Linked DNA regions of Homo sapiens: region 1 is linked to region 2. Evidence: promoter capture Hi-C in human tissues and cell types (Jung and others, 2019). All regions are on one chromosome and are shown on one strand. The core of a region is centred on a gene start or on the middle of the fragment in contact, and the rest is flanking DNA. Distances in the headings are between cores, read along the strand shown. Region 1 has its middle 320 kb from the start of LINC02403. Region 2 holds the start of LRIG3 (leucine rich repeats and immunoglobulin like domains 3).

What was found. Contacts are between HindIII fragments. The study calls those that stand out against the background at their distance.
Region 1: a fragment that was not itself captured here is called in contact with the fragment with the promoter of LRIG3 in region 2 in 1 of the 25 tissues and cell types used here (mesenchymal stem cells).

What each region holds. Positions count from the first base shown.
Region 1 is chr12:58,400,374-58,407,903 of GRCh38, forward strand. No RefSeq gene overlaps it. Among named protein-coding and RNA genes, the nearest start is that of LINC02403, 320 kb to the left of the region's middle. The HindIII fragment of the contact is 3,419 bases long and covers 2,655-6,073 here.
Region 2 is chr12:58,916,832-58,923,973 of GRCh38, forward strand. LRIG3 (leucine rich repeats and immunoglobulin like domains 3) reads right to left here and starts at 3,673. Exons shown (of 19, transcript NM_153377.5): 1 at 3,169-3,673. The coding sequence starts at 3,404. It overlaps LRIG3-DT (LRIG3 divergent transcript), which reads left to right and starts at 3,873. Exons shown (of 6, transcript NR_183518.1): 1 at 3,873-3,959; 2 at 4,568-4,641. RefSeq lists an enhancer at 2,570-2,839 and silencers at 3,220-3,299, 3,720-3,829, 4,448-4,557. The HindIII fragment of the contact is 9,447 bases long and covers 1-5,992 here.

The DNA of each region.
Region 1 (7,530 bases), core at 3,114-5,613, 520 kb before region 2:
GAAAAGAGAATGCTTATACACTGTTGATGGGAATGTAAATTAGCACAATCACCATGGAAAGCAGTATGGAAATTTCTCAAAGAACAAAAATAAAACTACCTTCTTATTCAGCAATCCCACTACAGGGCATCTATGAAAAGGGAAAGAAATTATTATATCAAAAAGATATTGGCACTTGTATGTTTATTGCAGCACAATTCACAATAGTAAAGATATGGAATCAACCTAAGTGTCCATCAATGGAGGACTGGATAAAGAAAATGTGGTATCTATATACCCTGGAATACTACTCAGCCATAAAAAAGAATAAAATCTTGTCTTTTCAGCAACATGGGTGGAGCTGGAGACTATTATCCTAAGTAAAATAACTCAGAAACAGAAAATCAAATACCACTTATAAGTGGGAACTAAACAATGGGTACACCTGGACATGGACATATAGATGGAAATAATAAATACTGGAGGCTCCAAAAAGGATGAGGGTCAGAAGAGGGTGAGAGTTGAAAAATTACATGTTGGATACAATGTTCTTTATTCATGTGATGAGTACACTAGAATCCCAAATTCCACCATACACAATATAACAATGTTCATTATTCATGTGATGAGTACATTAGAAGCCCAAACTCTGCCATACACAATATATCCATGTAACAAACCTGCACACATGTACCTTCTGAATCTATAAATTTTTAAAAATAAAACAATTTGCATAATTTCAGAGTATTCTGTTGTATGAATATGCATACTTTTATTTTATATTAATATTTTATTGAGTGATTGCTTGCTGGAGACAGGATCTCACTATTTTCACCAAGCTGGTCTCAAACTCCTGGCCTCAAGCAATGCTCCTGCCTCTGCCTATGAAAGTGCTGGGATTACCAGCATGAACCACCATGACCAACCCTAAAATTTTATCTATTAAAAAATATTCGTGGGCATCTTCAATACTGTTAAATGACTTTAAAAACTGGACAAAAATGTTTTAAAAAGGAGTGAATATTTTAAAGCACATATTAATAGTGTAAATAGTCATCTGGAAGCATTGAATGTGTTCATGCTTCTTCCATGGTTTATGAGAATGCCTGATTCCATATGTTCTCATGAGTATTGAATAATGTCATGCTTTTAAAAATCTTTTCCAATTAGATATTTAAAAATTGTCTTCTCGATGAAGCATATTTTGTCCCTGTTTTTTAGCCATCTGTATTTCTTCTCTGTTGCATTGTCTGCTTGGAGTGGCAAAACATTTGAAGTTTTGCTATATTAAAAGTATGCCCTTATGGTTTCTGTTTTTATCACTGCTTAAAAAAATGTATCCTAATATCAAATAAATCCTGATCTAGTTAATTCATGATTTTACTTTTTAAATTCAACTTATTTATTTATTTCAAGTTTATGTTTCTCTAATGTCCAAGGTGGGATCTAATTTCATTTTTCGTTTCTGAAAGGTAAACTAATTGTTCTAGAAAGAACTACTGACTTATCTATCTGTATCAGTTAGGAATTTCTTTAAATAGGATAATGAAGCTGACAATGATGAAGCTTTTCAGTTAAATGATAATCTCTAGCTTTTAATCAGAGTGGTGGACCATTTATATTTAATGTAATTATTAATATGGTTGAGTTTAAATCAACTTTCTCATATTTGTTTTCTATTTGTTACACTATTTATATTCCTCCTTAAAATCCTTGTTTTATATTAAGTAATTTTAAGTATTTTATTTCAACTATTGATTTATTTGCTATTCTTTTTGCTATTTTTCTTAGTGGTTGCTCTAGAGTTTAGAATACACATTTTAAAACTTATCAGAGCCTACTATGAAATACTATTACACTACTTCACATGAAATGCAGACTCTTACAGCAGCAAAATTTTAGTATCCCCTCCCTATTCTTTGGGCTTTCACTGTCATATATTTTATTTCTGCATATGTTCTAAACTTCACAATACATTATTGTTATTTTGCTTTAAGCATAAAACAAATGAACAAATGAGAAAAAATATTTTTATTTACTTACATATTTACCACCTCCAGCACACATTATTCCTTTCTGTAAATCTGAATTTTAATGTTATCATTTTCCTTCTACTTGTAGAACTTTCTTAACATTTATTGTAGTGCAAGTGTGGACTATATTTTATGAAATAAATACTGATTTAAATCAATCAATCAAATCAGTCAATATCTTCTATTTACAAAAGTCAATCATTTTAAGAGTCTACTCTTCTTTGTAGTCTTTAGAATATTTTTAATTTTTATTTCTCTGAAATTTCTTTCTATAGTTCCAAGTGTGAATTTTTCCTCTTTGTTTATTGTCAAAGTGAGATTTATTTAGTCTTGAGCTTCTCAAACGTACAGCGGCTGGATGTGGGTGGAAAGGCATAGTCTTTAATTGACCATTAACTTGGTAATATTCAAATCCCTTCATATCCATTTCCAAGTTCTTTCATGCGCACAGTTCCCATTTCAATTCTCATTATCCAGAAGGTATTCTTCTAGTAAAACTCTATTATACCAAGGAAGAAAAGAAATCTTTCTTATTTCCTAATATTCTTGTTACCTAATATTTTTAACTCCTTGATTTATGTAACACATGAAACATCACAATTCCCAATGTACACAGTCACCAAGGCTCCTCTCTGTTGGCTTCCACACACAAATCTTTACATGTGGAGGGTCTATACTTCCCAGAAACCATGTCTTATTGTAGGTTGTTTCTCTTACCTCTCAGCTACTTTTACAGGAATTATTGTCTCCAACTAAATGTTGGAAATTAGTTTTGGCTGAGAGTGAGGCAGTGATGTGTCTAACTCAATTGGACTGATGTAATGCTTCTGTAAGAAAAATGGGTACATTTTTATTAATATTGATGATTTGAAAACTATATTTCTAGATTTTACATATTCCCTCCTTGAAATGGGATACCATCATCCAAAACTAATCAATTGTTGGGGGGGGGGGTGGTCTTTAAATTGCTCTGTACTTCCATCCTGCTTATTATCTTGACTTCTATTTGTTTGAGAAATAAGCTCGAAATGTAATTATCTCAAATAAGGAGACTTCAAGTCTGGAATATAATGCTTAGAAAAGTAATTGGCTTTTAATGCTCTTACTCATGATCCCTAAGGCTCTATTTGGATGAAAATACCAGAGACACTTGGAAAACTGTCTCTAAAAAACTTTAATGATGATTGACTTGATTCAGAAAAATTATTCACTAACCCCCACCTCATTCTCTATGTTAAATATTGAAATATAAAGTTATTGACTCTTAGTCAAATAACGAACTTGGCCACGTATGCCTGTTTCAGCTGTGGTAGCTTACTTCTGCAGGGTCAAGTAGTTCCAAATGAAATTGAATAAACATGGGGGTATTCAGACACCATGGATTATATTTAAATCCTAGACATTAAAATTTACGTGGATTTGAGACAGCATTTGTTGAAAATAACATAGTAGGAAGGCTTTCTTCTTCAATATCCTCAAAGTTAATATTTTTGAATCTCATGATACAGGGCTGACTAGTTTCTGAAAAAAAAGAAAGAATAAACCTGTAGTAGTAATTTATCATTCTTGACATTTTTCTTTCAGTTTAATTACCGCTGAGCAGCAGAACTGACACTTAATAAAAGTAAGAAGCATTTAAAAATCCTCATAGAAAATCTCCACATTACAGGAGAATTGAAAAGCTATAAGATACACCTGACCACACCCATCATCTTATTTTATCGTTGAATTTCAAAGTACTCCATGTTAAAGCTTTAAAGACAATGGGACCCCAAAAGAGTAATGTGCTGATAGCCAGTAGGGCACCTGCTTCTGAGAGTCCATAATGTCTTTAATTTTTAAAGATTTTTAAAAAATCTTGCTCTCTTTTCTCCTCATTACAGTGGTATGGAACCCTGTGGCCAAAATTCAGAGGGAAGTTGCACTGTTTCCCAAGTGACTCATTTACTATCAAATATCCTGAAAAACCAATCTTTTTGTTCTCTTTTTGCTTGACTGTAAGAATGAGCCCAGAGGACAGGCCCTTAGATAAGGGCAGAAAGCATAGCCCAATACAATGTAGTTTGATGGGCCAGGAGGTACCTCTGGCCTCTGAATTCTCCCCTCTCACCTCTCCTGATGCCCAACATTCATATCTTTTGAACATTAATTTTTTTTCAGACTTTCAGAGTCTCCCATTAAAAGGACCCTATTAAAGTAGCATTAAGTAGTCTGACAATAAGACCTTTAGGATATAAAATAGAAATAGGAAGAAAGGAGCTACTTTAGGAAGATGATAAGAGAAGATAAACTCTTATTTAACCCCCTATTATGCAGTGGACATCTGTGACTTAGGTACAGATATGGAAACTAAAGCTCAGAGATATCCAGTGATTTGCCTAAGGTCACATGGCTAGTTAATAGCACGTAAGAGTTTTCAAAGACAAGCATAAGCAAGGTATCTTCCTTCCCACAGTGTAGTACTAAGGTCAGTTTTACATAGTGAATAGTTCCTAAATCATTGCAATAAATGGCAATGGCAACAATCACCTTTAGAGATCTGGAGCATTTAAATATTTGTTGAATGAGACAGTAATGATCTGACTTAGTTTTCTGCTGAAAAAAAAAACCGTGAAAATCCCATTGAAATGAACTGAGATATTATAGATTAATTACTCCTGGAAAGATAGCAAAGCAATATTCTTCAGGTATAAGAAATATAAGCATCATTTACAAACTTAACACCAGAAATGACTACATAACAAACCTATAAGCTTAGTAACATAGGATGTGGGTTAGATGTGGCAAGAAAATTACACTTAGAAGAAATAAATCAATTTCCATTAGCCAAATTTCATGGATTAAAAGAATAAGCACACTAGATAAAAGGTAAAAGTTAATGGGATTTTGAAGCAATTTCATAACTATTTAAAAATACTCAAGCTACACAGTGTCAAAACAGTCATAAGATATGGGGGGGAAATAATCAAAAGCATAATTACTAGAATTGAATGCTGTTGTTTTCATGGAATTAAACATCATTTAAAAAGTCAAAAATATTTAGTGAGCCCCAATTAAATGTTTAAAATTCCAATTCTCTTTGACATTCCCACCTCCAAAGAAGTATCAGGAGACCTACGCATACCATGTGCTGAATGGCTGGGTGTTATGTAGGACTCAAAGGTGGAAGGAAGTGGTCTCTCTTCCCCTCTAGGAGTTCACAACTGGTTGAAGCGACAGATACATATACTTATTATGTCTTCAAAGCCAAGTGGTGTGGTAACTGTTTTAAGAGAGTTTTAGATCTAGTGCTATGGAAGGCTTGTGAGTGCGACATTAACATTCACGGGTGCTGTTAGTGGTGTTATTTGAAGGAGAGAGAAAGATGTCCCCAAGTTACCTACAGCCTGATTCGGATAAGAAAACTAATACCCTGGAACATAGATTTTGATTCAGCCAGACTTGTTCTGCCTGTGGGGAGACAGCCTTGAATCGGAAGCAAAACAACTCATTTTATGCTTTTTCCCCATTCTTTTCTCCCGCTGGCTTGTTGAGATTCTCCCAACGTGATAGTATGTACTTCTATTTTAATGACAAAAGGCTGTCGTGATTTCTCTTGGACCACAGTGATTTTGGTATGCTTATCCGTTTTTAAAGTCATGTTGGTGGTTGAATTTATACAAAATGTTTAAAATTTCCTGGAACAAAACCAGCTGTAACTTATCAGAGGAAGAAAATAATACAGAAATACTTGCAAACAAAAGAAAAGACAAACAACCCTTCCCTCAAATCTACAAAGAAACTCACACAGACACATCAATTGCCAGCGTACAATATGATGCTTCTGACCTTTCACCTGTTGAGCTGTTAATGAGTTGTTTCCCTGGTTGTGGCGCTATACCATGAATTATCCACATTTTATTCCCTTCATTTGCATGTTCTTAGTATCAGGGTGAATCCAGGTATGTGACTGGGAGAAAATTCTGGCCAGCCAGCTCTGAGAGAGAACATGAGGCCACCTGTCTGTACCTGCACCTGCTTTTAGATACCCATTGATTCAGTAAACTTCTAATGAGTGCCTACTATGTAGCAGGCACAGTCACAGACATGGGGGATGCACCTGTGGACAAGGCTGACGCAGCTGCCGCCATCTTGGAATTTACTGTGGGGTCGAGAGGAAGGATGTTACCAACAGGCAAGTGTGAGTTGTATTATAGCTGTACATATGGCAAGTGCTTGCTAAGGGAAATGGCGGAAGCATAGAGGTGAGATCTTTAACCTGGAAGTGATGTCCACGTTGTGTCCTAAGGAACACATAGGAGTTAGCCAAGCGGAGGGCAGGAATGAGGTGGGGGAGTGTTCCAGGCAGGGGAGCAGCATGCATAAAAGCAGAGGCTAGAGGGAGCACGCTTGATGTGCACGCTGAATGCAGAGAAGGAGGAGGGGAGTTCAGGAGGGGAGGCCAGAGAGGTAAGTGGAACCAGGTCCCAAAAGGTCTGATTTTCTTCACTGAACTCATCTACTCTTCTTCTAGAACTCAGCCTGGTGAGATGGGCATTCAATGTTTGTTTTTCTGGTCTGTGATATTTTTCTCATTACCCCACTCCCCAACCTTCCCTTCCAGGGACACAGCTGGGAACAAGGCTCAAGGCCTCTAGGCTGTATTCACATTAGTATGTATAAAGTCACCATCTCCACTGCTCTTAAGAATCAGCTTGAGTTTTAGAAGGAGGGAGTGTGTGAACTGAGAGTGTGGTTTTGTGCCTGGTTCAATATATGAAAGGAGTAATTGTGCTTTTGGAGAGTAAAGGGCTCATAGGCTATGGGTTTGGAAATTTTCATTGAGTGTCTTCAGTGGAATTTCATTTAGTGGACTCATCGCCTAACTTTCCAGGAAGCTGAGATGCTTAGTGGGAGTTATATTTTGGTTTCCCACTGCAAGAGATGTATTGAGGCCTATGTTTTGGCTGTTTTGTTCTTGTGAGATTAGAGAGGCTGCTCTAGATACATTTCCAAACTCACCTGGGGATATTGGTGCTCTGTGAGCATTTAAATAATATATATAATTTAAATATATGTATATAATATATAATTTATATAACATGTATGTAATATATATTATATATAATTTAAATAGTTATATATATATATATAAGTTTAAGTTCAGGAGTACATGTGCAGGTTTGTTACATAAGTAAACGTGTGTCACGGCGATTTGTTGTACAGATTATTTCATCGCCCAGGTATTAAGCCTAGTACTTCTTAGTTATTTTTCCTGGTCCTCTCCCTCCTCCCACCCTCCACCCTGCTAAAGGCCCCAGTGTCTGTTGTTCCCCCTCTATGTGTAGGAGAATCTTTAACTGACTGGAAAGCAACGAGGATGTAGCGAAGCTTCCTTATACAGATTCCACTGTGCAGAAGGGCAAAGCTCTTTTGCCTTCTTGATATGTAAGGCAATGAAAAATATATTGATCCAGTTTATTCTATTGATTTGGAGATGCCTTTTTATGAGGGGAGAGAAGCAGCTTTTCTTGACCGG
Region 2 (7,142 bases), core at 2,423-4,922:
AAATAATCAATTTGCAACATTTGGTTCAAGCTGTCATTTTCTTCCTTTTAGCATTTGGAAATCTGACTTCCAAGTCAAATTTTAAATGCAAATCCAGCACAGCTTCTTAAGCAATCCCACTGGGGCCTGCAGAGCTGCTAATTCAGCACAAATCTGGAAAGCTGAAAAACAAAAAGCCAGGCTATAGCTGTTTTAAGACACTGATCCAAAGTGACTCATAAATCAGCCTGCTATATTCAAGTTTTAGTCTGGAAAATACAGAAAAACAGCTGTGAAAACCATAAGGACTATTACCCCCACCCCACCCCCAACTGTGGTCCGGACCATAAGATTTATAACAGGTCAACACTAAAGAAGTCACACCAGCAGAAACTACCTTTGGGACTTTCGCCTGGGTCCTGTTGAGAACTCAAACATTTCTACATAAGACAAATAATTCTGAAATGCCAGTGAGAATTTAATAATACTGGAAGTTCTCATTGGCAATTTAGCAACTTTTCCGTCTCTGGGCTAAATAACATTCTAACAAGCATTCCTCTTTAGGTTGAGAACTGTTTAAGCGCAAACTCTTGACATAAACTCTAGCTTGCCTTTAATGGCAGTTGTGAGCAAGGCTTGGCGTAGTTACTGGGTTGTTTTTTTTTAGACAAAGTCTCGCTCACATAGTTACTCTTTAAGAGCCACTTTCATTAAAGCATTAGAGGTTATTTTCTAAAAGGAGTACTGATACAGTATTATTATTTTACAGCTCAAACTATTCGACTTTTCACACATGGGACTCCTATAGTAATAAATCACAACCAAATAAAGTGGAAAAAATACATACACACGTAATTTTTCTTAAACTTGCAAATTCAACAAATGAAACAAAAGATAGACACTGAACTTTTTCTGAAAAGTGCTTTCATAAGCCAGTCCAAAGACAAACTCCTACTATTTTGATTACCCAAGGAAAGGGAAGGTAAGATATGGGGAACAAAAACATGCATTTTTCTATTTATATCTGAACTCGGAAATCATCTCCTTAAGACGATTTTTCTAATTACGAAAAACTTTAGTAGCTTTTTAGACCACCTATTCTAAAATACCAAATAACAGAGAAAGTAAAACTCAATTCCACGTGTTTTTCTGCTCCTTTCAAAAGTGGAAAGAGGAGACCTCTAGAGCTTTAGGTACAAACAAAAGAAATATTTACAATAAAGAATCCAGACCACATGGTTTGGTGACACCTACAAAGATGGTTAAAAGTCACAGAAGTACAGGAATGACAGAGCTGTCCAATAAGTGATCACAGCAGGGTTCCTGACAACAGACTGAGTGCTTATTTATACAAGTGGAACTTATTTTCACATACATTTAAGGAATGTGGGCTAGTATTGAGACAATTTACTGCTGGTGGAAATGTAATTAAAGACTGTGCTAACCAAATAAACTCTAATTTGTTTTTAGTGTGCCACCAAATTATCTGCAAAACAAAATCCTAATTAGGTCAGCTACTTTTAAGACAATGTTTAAATAGGTATCGAACCCCTTTTGGTTCAACTCAACTTCTGATCAAGGGCAACACAGATTTTTTTTCTAAACATCTAAATCCAGGAAAAAAGAAAAAAAGTACTGCACACTAGCATGATCACAATAGACAACTTGACATTGAAAAACTATCGAATACAAGTTAGATGCCGTGAATAATCTAAGCATATCTAAATACACTCCAGGAAGCACTGTATTCATTTTCTCTTTCTCATCCCTCTATTATTCCTAAGTGTTCACCTCCAGTCATTTACATGTTCAGTTCCATATGTTGTCAATAGAGCCATTCACTCATGAATAAGGCAGCATGACCTCCACAAGAGGCAATTTAACAGAATTAGCCACAACTAATTGAAAGTCTCCCTGCTTTCGGTTAAAGACCTTATCTCCTCTTCCAATTGCAATAAAAACTACTAAATAAAACGTCCCAAGAAATTAAATATCAATCCAATACTAATTCTACTTTATTAAACTAAGGCTTATTAAAAACACAAGGAATATACTTTCTGATGGCCAACAATTCTACATTCACAAAAGTTATTTAGATTAGCACAATAATTTTAAAATATAAATTCTTAAACACCTGACCAAACCTCCTACCACATTAGGGCATTGGAATAGTTCACTAGAATTGTTTTAAAAACTTAAAATTTTCATTGCAATTCTGCTAAGTCAAAATATAAGATTACGTATGAAGTGCACTTTTATTTTAAACAGAACAACTACTTTAAAAAATACAAATTTTGATTGTTTACTTTTTACAGCACTCCAATTTTAAAACTGGGACTGAGGAAGAAAAGAGATGACATTTGGAAAAGATCAGCATTTCCAACTAAATTACATTTTCTTCCTTGTTCTTCACGCAGTTGGCAGTGATTTCAGGTTTTCAGACTTCGCAGCTAAAAATCCAAAAACTTGCATAAGAGCTCCCTGCGCTCTCCCCTAAACCGTCTGGGCGTTCTGAGGAGCTACAGAAATCACGCCCTTGATTCTGGATAATCGAGTTCCGCCCTTTCCATAGCTACCGACCAGTCTTTACAATCTGGTTGAGGAGTGGGAACTTACGGTCTGCTAATGTGAAAAAGCAAGCAGAGGGAGAACAACAGAAGTACGTCCACCATAACTTGGAGAATGACCGAATTCTGTTGAGGGGGCTTCCCAAATGAAAAGCCTGACTTCAGTTACTGGGTGGGAACAGGAAAAGGAGTCTGACGCAGCTAGAAACTAAAACTGAACCAGACTCATAACTCAGCGAGAACTGCAAACTCCTGATGTGTGCAGGTTGCCGCTTATCTCCCCTGGGCCTGGCAGGAGCAAGCATTTGAACCCCTTGGCTAGCTTAGGGCGCAGGACTTCATCCCCAATCTCTGGCGTCGTTACTGGCCCCCAACCCTGGTCTACCTGCAGCCAGTTAGGACGCGCCAAGAGCCCACCTGCGCCGCCCGCAAAGCACGTGGGAGGGAAACTGAGGCCCGGACAGTTCTTTTTCCACGCCCACGGAGCGCCGATCGCGGCCTGGGCCAGAAGGAGCTATACGGCAAAAAGGGGACTGCACGCCGAACCCCATTCCCCGCCGGCTCCTGTTTTCTCGAATCTCCAGCGGCCCGGGCCCCCTCCCCCCGCGGGAAGAATACTTACAGCCGAGCGACCCAGGACGGGAGTGGCTCGGGAAGACGCGCTAGCCGCTTACGACTGCAGTCCAGCAGGTCCCCGAGGCAGCGGCAGGTAGTGGGGCATGGGCGCTCGGCGGCTACCCCAGAGGGCTGCCCGAGTTCCCCGCGACCGCCGCTGTCTGACCGGCCAGCGCGCCCCAGCACCGCGCACAGCAGCAGCCCCAACCCCGCGGCGCGCGCACGGAGGCTCGGCGCGCTCATCGCGGTCCAGCGGCCTAGGTCTCTACCCGAAGCTCCCAGCCGGCGCGCGCTCGGGGCCCGGCACAAACTTCCAGCCGAGGGTGCACGCCCGCCCTCGCGGTCGCGTGCGCGCTCCTCCCTCGCGCTGCCCGGTCAATTCCTTCTTTTACTCCCGGCGGCGAAGCCCTTTCATGCCCCCAAACAGCAGGAGGGAAACCGAAAAGAACTGCCAACTGCAACAGAGTTGCAGCTTGAGCAGCGTCGGCTCGCCGAAGCCCCTTCTTGTCTGCAAAAGAAACTTTTTCGCCTCCACCCCGCGGCACTGCGCCAAGTCCCCGCGCGGCGGAGTAGCAAGGCGGGCGGGTAGAGGCCGACGCGCGCCCATTGGCCGACTCGGCTGCGGGCGTCCCCGTGGCCACGTGACAATAACACCGCTCCAGCCGGGGGCCTACGCGCGGGAGAAAGTGGAGCTGAGATTGTAGGAAATTCAGAGTTATATTTTCCAGCCTCTCCAGCCAGAAGTCTCCACTACGTCGTGGGAAACATATATCAAATGGAGTTGAAAGGCAAAAGGAAGTGAGCAAATACTGGGCTAGTTCTCGGAGTTGGAGGTATTTAGGAGAACTTCAGGGAAGTAAAGTTTAATTAGCAGTGTTTTCAGGAAACTTTTCAATTCCAAATTAAAGACACTGATAAATTATCCTACCATCCACAGATGAAAGAGTGGTTTCAATGAAAACAGCTCTTTCAACGTTAATGCTGGTGGGTGTTCCCCCATACATCGGCTTCAAAAGTAAAAACAATAATAAAACGTAAAACTCGTGGTTTTGGAAAGTGTATATTGAATTACAAATAGCCAGCCTTCGTGCACTGGATAAAGCTGGGCGGGGTGGGGGATGGGAGATGACCTTCTAATAGACCTCGATGGCAATCATAGATTCCTGGTAATAGTAATAATAAAAGTAGTCACAGTGACATTTCAAAGTAAAATGAAAACTAAGACCTTGGAGGAAAAAATTAGTATATGCACCTTGGTCCACTTGCGCTTTGAGTAATGACACATGTTGATTGAGAATGCTACCAGGGTAAAAGTACCTCCCGGCCTCCTCAGCTGGGGGAGTGGATGTTTGGGGCTGGATTCAGGCTACAGGACTTCCCAGTGAAGTTTGTTCCTTAACTTACAGGTGATCAGCGCCACAAGATGTTGAAACTAATGGAGACCGCAGAGATCATGTGCTAAGGGGCCTTCCTCCTCTGGGTAAGGAAATAGACCTAGAGAACGTAACTAATGTGTTTGTTGCAAAAAAAATAAAAATAAAAGCAAGACAGAAAACATGAACAAACCAAAAAACAAACCCTGGAAGCTTAAAGTAAGTTTTCACTTCTATACATTGTTTATTGCATGCTGTCTGCCCAAGCTTGTCTGTCCTTGGAGTTGCGTAAACTGCTCATGATTGAGGAGTGGAGATAGCTTGTGGAGTTGAGACTTTAACCCTGACTCTAAGGCCCATTGATTTTTCACTGTAGCAAATCACTCCCACTTACGGGGGAAGGAAAAGACTCACTTTGAAGTTAACACACCCTATTTTAGATATGGTATCCCATTTTCTTATTTCCAGCTACCATTAACAACAACGCTACTACCTTTTTGGATGATGTATAATTATAATTAGAAAATATCTATAATGATGGCACCTTGGTTTTGAATTTATGATTTTGTCTGCTTGGGAGTAGACAAAACACACTACAGTCATAGTAAGGATTTTCCAGCTCAGTATCCCCCATCTATTTTTATTTATTTTTTTTATTTTTTTATTTTTGAGATGGAGACACTCCAGTCTGTCACCCAGGCTGGAGTGGGGTGCAGTGATGCGATGTCGGCTCGCTGCAACCTCTACCCCCTGGGTTCAAGCAATTATCCTGCTTCAGCCTCCCAAGTAGCTGGGATTACAGGTGCCCACCACCACACCCGGCTAATTTTTTTGTATTTTTAGTGGAGACAGGGTTTCACCATGTTGGCCAAGCTGGTTTCTAACTCCTGACCTCAGGCTATCCGCCCGCTTTGGCCTCCCAAAGTGTTGGGATTACAGGCGTGAGCCACCACACCCGGCCCCCCATCTATTTCATACAAGGAAAATTAGGTATAATTCATTGAAGTTTTTAAAAAGAAGAAAGATTCCATTGTACACATGCCATTATGCATAAGCAAGGTAACATCAGTATGGAGGCTTGCTCTTGAGACATGAGACATATGACAGGGATATAAATGTGCTACCATTTTGGGGAGTTTTGGCTCATTTCCTTTTCTCATTCTTTATTCTCCTTGTATAATTTCATCTTCTTCCATGAATTCCATTTACATTTACATGCTGACATATACAACATCCATATTTCAGCCCAGGTCTTTTTCCTAAACTCGAAATCCATATGTGCAATTACCCACAGGTCATTAAAAATTGGATGTTCAAATGTAACATGTCTAGAATTAAATTTCACCACCCTTGAAACTGACTTGTTTCCTCCTGAATTCACTGTCTTAAAGAGTGGATACTTCCCTCCATCCAGATGAATGCCCCAGAAACCTGAAAGTCACCTTAACATTACTTCATTCTCACCACCACCACCACCACCACCAGAGTCAATCAATTAGCAAGTCATGTTAAAGCTAGCTCCTAAATGTATCTTCTCTCTGTAGAAATTATGCAAATCCAGACCACCAGCAGCTCTTGCCACCTATCAGGCATTCCACTGCTTTCTCCTCAGGGCAGTTAAGTGATATCTCTGAAGGTCAAATCTGAGCCTGTGACTCAACTGACCAGTTCTTTTCTTGGGTTCCTAGTGTCTTGAGAATAAGGTTCAAATTCTTTAGAGTGACTTATACAGTTTTGTTTGTTTGTTTTGGCATTGAGCCTCTATTTATCTCTTTAATTCATTGTCTTTCATCATTTTTCTCCTACTCTAGGAGCTACTTGCAATTCTCTTCCCAGCTGTACTCTTGCCTTCAGCCCTCTTGCAAATGGTTCTTCTGTCCAAATCATTCTCTGCTCCTTCTTCTGCCTGGTTGATGGCATTCCTTCTTTGGCAAACACTTCCCTGAGTCAGGTTTAACTATCTATACCTCCAGTATACTTCCAGCACATCAGTATTGACTGGAATGTAATAGACCATTTTCACTCTAACCCCCAGGTAATACTACAGAATTTTCCGATAACCATGTATTCCTTATCGCCTTTAAGGGTTTTACCAGCTATTGTGAAGTTAAATTACCTAAGTTTTCAGTACCCCAGTTTCTCAGTCTGTAAATTGGGAATACAATAAAAAACGATCTTATCTGGCTGGCTTCCATTTATCAGTTACTGGATTAGCAGTCACTCTGTTCTCTCTGTACAACCTGACTGATGCCTATGACCAGCTGAAATCTAGAAACTACCAGCCTCTCCTTAGAACAGCCTTTGCATATTTGCTCCTACCTGTCAGGTGCTGATCCACAGTAGTTACAGACTTGTTTATATATATTATTAATGTTACACAATATTGTGTAAACCAAATACAAGTGCAACAAGAAAATACCTTTATTTCTATGATAATGAATTTGAAGGTTGGGAAAGATTCTTTAAAGGTAATCGATAAAACAATGCTATCCAATTAGATGAAGATAAGACAGTTGTAAATATGGGAGGAGGAGATTACAAATATCTAGGAGATTTTTTTGGAAAGGTTACTTTGCAAGTAAGATCTTGTTCCACTTTAATTGTATTT